Regions from separate parts of the Homo sapiens genome. Here region 2 is linked to region 1. The links are contacts of gene promoters, found by promoter capture Hi-C in blood cells and fetal thymus (Javierre and others, 2016). All regions are on one chromosome and are shown on one strand. Each heading gives the region's core, a stretch centred on a gene start or on the middle of the fragment in contact. The rest is flanking DNA. Distances are from core to core; before and after follow the strand shown. Region 1 holds the start of NCOR1 (nuclear receptor corepressor 1). Region 2 holds the start of SUPT4H1 (SPT4 homolog, DSIF elongation factor subunit).

The links. Contacts are between HindIII fragments. The CHiCAGO score rates a contact against its expected background, and 5 or more counts as called.
Region 2: the fragment with the promoter of SUPT4H1 here is called in contact with the fragment with the promoter of NCOR1 in region 1 in 1 of 17 cell types (non-activated CD4 T cells); the score reaches 9.2 in non-activated CD4 T cells.

What each region holds. Positions count from the first base shown.
Region 1 is chr17:16,213,698-16,218,067 of GRCh38, forward strand. NCOR1 (nuclear receptor corepressor 1) reads right to left here and starts at 1,837. Exons shown (of 46, transcript NM_006311.4): 1 at 1,665-1,837. PIGL (phosphatidylinositol glycan anchor biosynthesis class L) reads left to right here and starts at 3,513. Exons shown (of 7, transcript NM_004278.4): 1 at 3,513-3,764. The coding sequence starts at 3,530. RefSeq lists enhancers at 633-1,549, 1,550-2,465, 2,043-2,102, 3,289-3,538 and a silencer at 1,303-1,772. The HindIII fragment of the contact is 4,024 bases long and covers 1-3,400 here.
Region 2 is chr17:58,350,264-58,354,633 of GRCh38, forward strand. It overlaps SUPT4H1 (SPT4 homolog, DSIF elongation factor subunit), which reads right to left and starts at 1,938. Exons shown (of 5, transcript NM_003168.3): 1 at 1,804-1,938; 2 at 1,139-1,245. The coding sequence starts at 1,872. It overlaps TSPOAP1-AS1 (TSPOAP1, SUPT4H1 and RNF43 antisense RNA 1), which reads left to right. Exons shown (of 5, transcript NR_038410.1): 4 at 1,481-1,651; 5 at 1,736-3,464. RNF43 (ring finger protein 43) reads right to left here. Exons shown (of 10, transcript NM_017763.6): 10 at 3,413-4,370. RefSeq lists silencers at 1,512-1,621, 1,902-2,331 and an enhancer at 2,719-3,254. The HindIII fragment of the contact is 2,691 bases long and covers 1,395-4,085 here.

The DNA.
Region 1 (4,370 bases), core at 587-3,086:
ACTCCCTTTAGGCTCACAACAGCCAACCCTAGGAGAGTAGATGTTTACCTAATATTCAAGATGAGGAAACTGAAGCACAGAAAGGTTGATCAAGTTCCAAAATCACATAGTTAGAGCAAGAATCAAGATACTTTGTATTATATTTTCTCCGGGGGAGTAGTTCAACATATGGCAAGCCTTTTGTAAAAGGAAAGAGTATTTTAGTATTGTAAGTAATCAGTTCCTACTGTGAGCATTTTATACATAGCTATATCCATATATACAATTAATCTTGATTTCCATTAACAGGTGTGCTTAAAGCAAGGCCAAGCAACTGGGTACTATAAATATTAAAACAAATAAATAAACTTCCACCGGATGTTAACAGAAAAAGAAAAAAAGATACAAGATTTCTCTCTCCAGTAACTTGCGGTTACTTCTTCTGTAATTGTTACCCTTGTCTAAATAACATTCTAAAATTGGTCTGCTCCTGAGCCCGGGCAAGTACAAGTTGGTTCATCCAATAAATATCTTCATGAAAAGGTACATCAAAACATTTTAAAAAGCTATTAAAAATTAAACGATGCCATCAACTCTTCAGTTATCCACAGGACAATCACATGTGACCCAGCATCAGCAGCTATTGATCAAGATATATTGAACGAATGAATGAATCTTTGTAGGCATTTTTAAATCCCGGGCCTGTTGCTCCTTGCACAGTGCCATGTTCAGCCTTCCATCACTGCCTCACCAGGGTGCACACAAGGAATGTAAATTTCAATATAATTAGGATATAATTAGAGAAGCAAATCTGATGCAGGTTTACATACTAATCCCAAAGATTAGAATTACCTATACTACTACTCTCCAAGGTTAACTCTGTGGAAGAGGCACCGCAGCATGCAACATCACATAAAGAAAACTGACACTTCCTGAGCAAATAGTTTTCGTCCATATCACTTATTCCCATCCATTCCTTTAATACATGACTATTCCTGATCCAGTTAATTTGAAGAATTCAGTCTCCTCTCCATAAAGGCTGATTTCACAACTACAGTTTCTCAAATTCCTCTCTCCCCAAAAAGGGGTGCACTTACGGACTTCGCTTAAGAAAACACCAACAATAAACGGCAGAAGGTATAGTGTTCGGATCTTTGCCATCTCCACCAGTACCCAGCCTTCGCCATTACACCCTGAAGCGGTCTGTTAGAAAGGTGAACTAATTTACTCTGCACGCACTTGTCCATGGCTGTCAACCTCCGCAGCCCCTTCTACACTTCCAAGTCGGCCACCAACTCCGCCTCAGTGAGCCCAGGCCCGCCACCTGCGCCGGCCCCACCCGGGGCACCGGCTGCCCGCTCTCCCTCGCAGGCCCTGTAGGCTCCGCACGCCCCTCCGCACAGGACACCTCGGGGCCAGCCCCGGCCCGGCCACAGCCCATTCTTCCTCCAAACTCCATAAGCCTCCGCTAGCCCAGCCCGAGCTCCCCGCCGCGCCCGGCTCTCTCCTGGGCTGCCGAGTGGAAGAGGCCAGGCGGCCAGGACGGGTCCCGACCTGCCCAGGCCTGCGACACCCCCCGCCCGGCGGAGAAACCGTCCCAGCGGCTGCTGCCCCGGGAGCCCTCGGAAGCCCCCGGACTAGCAGGAGCCCGGAGGCCGGGGTTGCAGGCGCCAGGGCCTACTCACCGGGAGCTGGCTAAGCGTGGGAGCCGACGTGCGCCCCGGCCTGAGGAGTGGGACGCGGCCACGGCGCGCGGCCCTACACCGGGACCTCGTTCGGCGCGGCGAGTCGGACGCTCACTCCAGCCGCCGCCGCCGCCGCGGCTGCTGCTTCGCCACCTTGGCCGCCATCTTGACTCAACCCCTCTCCCTCCCCCCAGCCCGCGGAGCCGCGGCTAAGGCGGCTCCAGCGCCGGCTCCTCCTCCTTCCGGAGAGTTGGGAGACCAACTCCCTCCGCTGGCCGGGCGCCTCTCCTACCTCGGCGGAGCTTCCCGGGTCGCGCTGCGCCCGGTCTCTTCATGTCTCCTCTAGGCCTGGCAGCGGCGGTCCTCTCGGACGGATACGGGGCCGAGCAGCGCCCAGCCGGATCCAGCGCTGCTGCCATCGTGCCCTGGGCTTGTGCGCCCCCCGCCTGCCCGTCTGTTCCGCGCGCCCGAGGCCTTCCTCAGGCGTGGGAAAAGGAAAAACTCCAGGCCGTGGAAGGGACCCTGCAAACCCCTCCGCGGCGTGGTGGGGCGGCGGCGGCCTCCTCTGGCCGGAGCTGCGTACAGGGAAGCCGGTCCCCTCGTGGCTGGGAGCTGGAGGGGTGCATTTCGACCTGCCCAAGATACTTTCTAGGGCTCTGGCTGGAATTCGCACCAAGCCCTCACTGAAATGCTGGGCGAGGCCGATTTGTCCACGATGTTGCTCCTTAACCTTAAGTTACTTGCAAGAGGAGCCTGTGGCCCTCGCGACTGTTAAGTGCACGCTCAGCCTCACCCTGCTGGGGAAACGACGGTTCCTCGTAACCGCACGCATACGTTCCTTTAGAAAAGCCAGGCCCGACCGGACGCAGTGGGTCACGCTTGTAATCCCAGCACTTAGGGAGGCCGAGGCGGGCCATCACTTAAGGTCAGGAGTTCGAGACCAGCCTGACGAACATGGAGAAACCCCGTCACTACTAAAAATACAAAAATTAAGCGGGCGTGGTGGCGCGCGCCAGTAATCCCAGCTACTGGGGAGACCGAAGTGGGAGAATTGCTTGAACGCGGGAGGCTGAGGTAGCAGCGAACCTAGGTCGCGCCACTGCACTCCAGCCTGGGCGACGGAGCCAGACCGTTTCAAAAAAAAAAAAGAAAGGGCCGGGCGCGGTGGCTCAGGCCTGTAATCCCAGCACTTTGGGAGGCCGAGGCGAGCGGATCACGAAGTCAGGAGTTCGAGACCAGCCTAGTTAACATGGTGAAACCCCCTCTCTACTAAAAATACAAAAATTAGCTGGGCGTGGTGGCGCGCGCCTATAGTCCCAGCTACTCGGGAGGCTGAGGCAGAAGAGTCGCTTGAACCCGGGAGACAGAGGTTGCAGTGAGCCGAGATCGCTCCACTGCACTCCAGCCTGGGCGACAGAGCCTCTCAAAAAAAAAAAAAAAGGTAAAGAAAGCCATCCAAAAGTGAGAAGGAATAACAAAGTTGGTGTAACTGGCTATTTTGGAAAACTGTCATACGGATAACGGGCTGTCTAACCCTATAATTACGAGAAAGGCCCGAGTTTTAAGAAATGAATTCGAAAATGAAGAGGAAGGAACTCTTCCTATAAGTGGGAGCTTATATATAAGACGCTTCCTTTTAAACCGATTGTACAGTGTGGTAGGACTAGGGTAGGAAACTGGACGGCATGGAGACTTCTGTGTTAAAACACAAGAGAACCCTTAACGTTAAAACCTCAAGCTTCCGGAGCATGTCGGCGGGAGGGACTTAACAGCGGAACCCAACATTCCCCGGTGAAGTTTTCCAGCCGGAGTCAGGGTCAGAGGCAGCCTTTCCTACTGCGCAGGCTCAGTGCTGCTTACCCATCATGGAAGCAATGTGGCTCCTGTGTGTGGCGTTGGCGGTCTTGGCATGGGGCTTCCTCTGGGTTTGGGACTCCTCAGAACGAATGAAGAGTCGGGAGCAGGGAGGACGGCTGGGAGCCGAAAGCCGGACCCTGCTGGTCATAGCGCACCCTGACGATGAAGCCATGTTTTTTGCTCCCACAGTGCTAGGCTTGGCCCGCCTAAGGCACTGGGTGTACCTGCTTTGCTTCTCTGCAGGTAGGAGGCCATAGGAGGGGCGATGGGAGCCGGGGCTTTGAAAGGGATTTAAGTGCTAACCGATCTCAGTCGCCTTCTTCTCGAAGTTTTCCGTAGGGAGCTAAGTGAATACACCGAAGGTCTTACCTCTGAACCCCTCACAGCCTAGGGACAGGAGCGGCCGGCTTACCTGGTGGGTTGGGGGACGTCGGCAGCTCGCGTACTACGCCAGCAGGATTGAGGAGCAGAGAAACAGTTGCAGTTGGTTGTATTCAGTACCTGCATTTCCGTTGGGAACTCCACCTGTACTTGTTATTCTGTGGAACTTTTTTTTATTTGTAGAAGGAGCAAGAATATTGACCTTACTATATAGCACACGAAACAATCTATGCTGTATCGTGCCTGCTCAATCCTTAAAGTTAACTTCTAATGATAGTAAAAGACCTTCCTGCTGCCTTTAAAATGCAGCTTGTGCTAGTAACATGCATGTGTCAAATTGAAGAATTAGACATAGATGACTAGATAGAAAGTAATTTTGTAGGTAATTTTAGAGTTCAACTCCACCCAGCTTTCAGTGAAGGAACCTTTCAAATAATAGATTTTTGCTTACCATAGAGAAAAGATCAA
Region 2 (4,370 bases), core at 688-3,187, about 42 Mb after region 1:
AGCACTTTGGGAGGCCGAGGCGGGTGGATCACGAGGTCAGCAGTTCAAGACCAGTCTGACCAACATGGTGAAACCCCGTCTCTACTAAAAATACAAAAATTAGCTGGGTATGGTGGCAGGTGCCTGTAATCCCAGCTACTCAGGAGGCTGAGGCAGAGAACTGCTTGAACCTGGGAGGCGGAGGTTGCAGTGAGCCGAGATTGCGCCACTGCACTCCAGCCTGGGCGACAGAGCGAGACTCCATCTCAAATAAATAAATAAATAAATAAATAAGTAAAATGGCTAAAATGGGCCGGGCATGGTGACTCATACTTGTAATCCCAGCACTATGAGAGGCCGAGGTGGGCAGATCACCTGAGGTCAGGAGTTTGAGACCAGCCTGGCCAACATGGTGAAACCCCGTCTCTACTAAAGATATAAAAATTAGCTGGGAGTGGTGGTGGGTGCCTGTAATCCCAGCTACTCAAGAGGCTGAGGCAGGAGAATTGCTTGAACCCAGGAGGCAGAGGTTGCAGTGAGCCGAGACTGCACCATTGCACTCCAGCATGAGTGGCAAGGGCGAAAAGTCTGTCCAAAAAAAAAAAAAAAAAAAAAGCAACAGCTTTTGGGCAATGATCTACCATTACTACACCTCCCTTCCCTTCATTTTCAAAAAAAATTTTCATGCATTTAACAAACATTATTAAGATTACATTCTTTCTTCTCATGTTAAGTCTTTGAAATCTGGGGTATATTTTATACTTAAAAGCATGTCTTAATTTGGACTAGACACATTTCAAGTGCTCAGTAGCTACACGTGGATAGTGGTCACTGTATTAGATGCATAGCACTAGTATGTCCCAAAATAACTGTTGAGGCTGGACACAGTGGCTTACACCTATAATCCCAGCACTCTGGGAGGTTGAAGTCAGAGGATCATTCCACGCTGCAGTGAGCTATGATCATGCCACTGCACTCCAGCCTGAGCCACAGAGCAAAACCCTGATTCAAAAAAAAAAAAAAAAAAAAAAACCCACACAAAATAACCCCCAAAAACGAATGGCTGGGCCCAACTAGGATTAACACTTGCCCTGCATTTACTTCTCTGGGTGCAGGTTGGGTAATGCAGAAGTGAATGATGGAAACTGAAGCGGCTTACCCATCAAAGGAAGAGCTAGTGCAGTCATATACCATCTCTCGGTTACCCTTCATTTGTAGATATGCATCACAATTGTCACAACCATCATATTCAAACTGGTCTATAGTCTGGGAGTGAAAGAAAAATAAAGGAAAAGGAGAGATAAGCATGAACAAGACCAAGAGAAAAAGTAGCTTTCTCAATACTTCGACCTGCTCAATTTCTTGTTTCCCTATGTTGACTGTGTATCCTAAGGTTCCCCACCTACTACTCTCAAAGCTTCATTCCTAAGTCCCACCCTCCCACTCCTTCCTCTCTCGTTCCCAATTCCGTTTTATCTATTCCTTTCTCTAGTCTACTCAGGGTCAGGCATCCTTTCCGACTACTCACTCAGCAGCGGATCCCCACCCGCCTCTGACTCCCAGTGTCTTTCGGCTCCAACGTAAGTTCACCGAACGTCTAAGAGCTGAGGATTCAAAGGCATGTAAGACCGCCCCTGCCCTCAGCTGCAAGACCTGTCCGCGATCCTACGAGGTAAACGATGGCCTCCTTCGGCTTCTCACTCCCCCTGCCACCTCTGAGTTCTGAGACTTAACTTTTCTCTTTACTGTCCCACAGCCCCATTCCGCCCTCTTTCCCCGACCTTGGTCCCCCATGGGCCCTACAACCAGGTCCCCGACTGACACCTTGACCAGCGAACACAGCAAACAGGCCCGCAGATGCCGCAGGTCCTTCGGCACCGTCTCCAGGGCCATCTTCGCCGATGGGAAGAACAACAGGGAGATAGACGACCACAGCCTGTGCACCCGCAGGAAGTAAATAGCTCGTTACCCAGAATGCCCACCACTTCCGGCGCTTAGACTTCCTCTTCCGGTGTGGGCGGACGCCAGCTCCGCCCCTACCCCCGCCAGAGGAGATGGTTTCTCCCGCCAGCAGGCGGGGAGGCTGGGCGGCCGGCCGCCACCTGGGCCGGAGCGCGTCGCAGCCACCTGAGCCCGCCGAGGGCGCGGCGGAGGCTGTGTGGGGTAGTCAGCGGGCCCCCGGGGCGGGGGGGCGGCTGCGCTTGCGCGGGAGTGTGTCGGGCTGAGCCGCAGCGCCGAGACGCGGGCTGTTTGATCTGGGCTGGTGGCCCTGGGCGTCGGTCCTGTTCCCCGATGGTAACCCGAAGTTTGTTTTTTTTTGTTTTGTCTCCCCGTTTTAGAAGCATTGGGGGCAGTGAATCCACTGTCTCCCTCTGGATTGTCTCTGCAGAGACCGAGAAGAAATCCAGGGACAGCCCCACCCCTCCTTCCTAACTGCGAGAGCGCTATAGGGTTTCCACTTGCTTCCCACAGGAATGCTGGCCTGGGAGCTACGGCGGAAAAAAATGCGTATTTATCTTTTAAAACTCCGTCTGTTTGCTCGTTCCGGCTGATAATTTATACTTTGCGCAGTTCTTAGCGCTTAGACACGGTTCCTTTACTAAAGACCATTTGTAGGAGATTAGGTGTCCTTTTTTTCCCTTTCATTTCACCGTCTAGGAAGCGAAATGCCTTGTTCTATAGGCACTAAACCACCACCCCTACCAAACCTTTCTCGGGGAAGCAGAAGGGGAACTTGTGCCTTGTGAGGAAGCGACAAAGGCCCCTTCTGGCCCTGGAGACTTCACGCCAATGGAGCACCAGCTCTCTGTCCTCGCAATAGCCCGAGTGCAGGCAGAACGCAGTCATTTGTGTTTATCTGAGAGGAGCTTTGGGATATAAATAGTTTCAGGCCCCGCTGCGCTGTCATTCCAGCCCAGCCTCCTGATTGAGCTGCTTCCGGGCGGGCTTTCTTCTTGTTGGCGGTCCCATGCTGTGTTCAGATGGGCTCTGTGACAGGTTTGGATGTTTTCTATCACTGAATAAAACTTTCCACTTTGGAACATATTTTCTACACTCTATTATCTCATGTAAGTCCTGCAACAACTATTAAGTAGGCCCATTTTATGGACTGAAAAAGCGAGGCACAGAGTATTTGCCCAAGGTCTGAGTCACTGAAGTATGATAATGTGTGAAGTGAACAGTATAATAATAATGACTGAAGCACAGTAAGAATCCAGTCATGCTTTCTCCTTCCCTGATCTCACTAAGCCACACTTTTAGGGGCTTACAAACCAGTTCTTATTGCCAAGCCCTCTACTCTACCCTATCCTTTCATGAATCGGAGCCTAGCCTCTGATAACATAAATAATTTACTTCTCTTGATGTAGAAAGAGATGACGTTGTTACCCTGAGTGACAGTCACGACAGAACAAAACCACAAGACCAGACCACATTTGTGGATAAATATATTAGCAAATAAATATATTTCTTAACATAGTGCCTGATTCAAGCGTCTGTCTGGTTCAGATATAAATACCCATGTGGGTACCTAGGTGCTAGTCTCCCCACTAACTGAGGGAAAAAGGTTCCCAGGTGGGGTCCTCTGCCCACTTTGCCACCACATTCACATTCCAAATGGGATAATGCCTGAGGGGCCAAGAGTGGTCAGGCTGCCCTGGGGTGAATGTCACCCTGATGAGGCCCATCAGCTCTTGTCCACTCAGTGAGGCCAGACTTGTGCTCTAATCCACTCTCCTGTGGGTCCCTGGCCTGTATGGCTTATACTGGGGAGCTGGGCCTCTGGGCTGTCCAAACCCAAGGGTCACACTTTGCTTTTCCTTTGTTGTCCCCATTTTCCATCCTTGCTCTAAGACAAAACTTTTCCCAGAGAAGAACTCTTTGTTGTCCCCGCTCAGCTGTAATTCTGCCTTTTCTACCTTCATTCCATCCTTCCTCTGCCCAGATAAAGTCCAGCAGAAATTCCTCCTTTCTACCTCTCTGGGACTCTGAGACAGGAAATCTTCAAGGAGGAGTTTTTCCCTCCCCACTATTCTTATTCTCAACCCCCAGAGGAACCAAGGCTGCTGTACCCACCTCAGGGACAGAACTCCACACTATAGTGGGAAAGCTTCAGGGACCCCTCCTTTTAGTGCTCAGGGCTCACCTATGCTACTGGTCCTTTTGGCAAAAAAGGAAAATGATAGAGCCAGGGTTGCCCCTGATGTAGCAGCCTTACTGTGGAGGGGCCAAAGCTGGTGTTCAGAGCTCACCCAAGGAGGGAGGTGATAAGGTGTCATGCGTTCTGCTGAACCCACTGGCTGGTATGAACATGAGGCTTGGGGTGAGGGAAACCAAGTAGGGGTTGGAGAAGGAGCAGCACCTTTGTAACACCTGGCTACCCATAGCTAGCT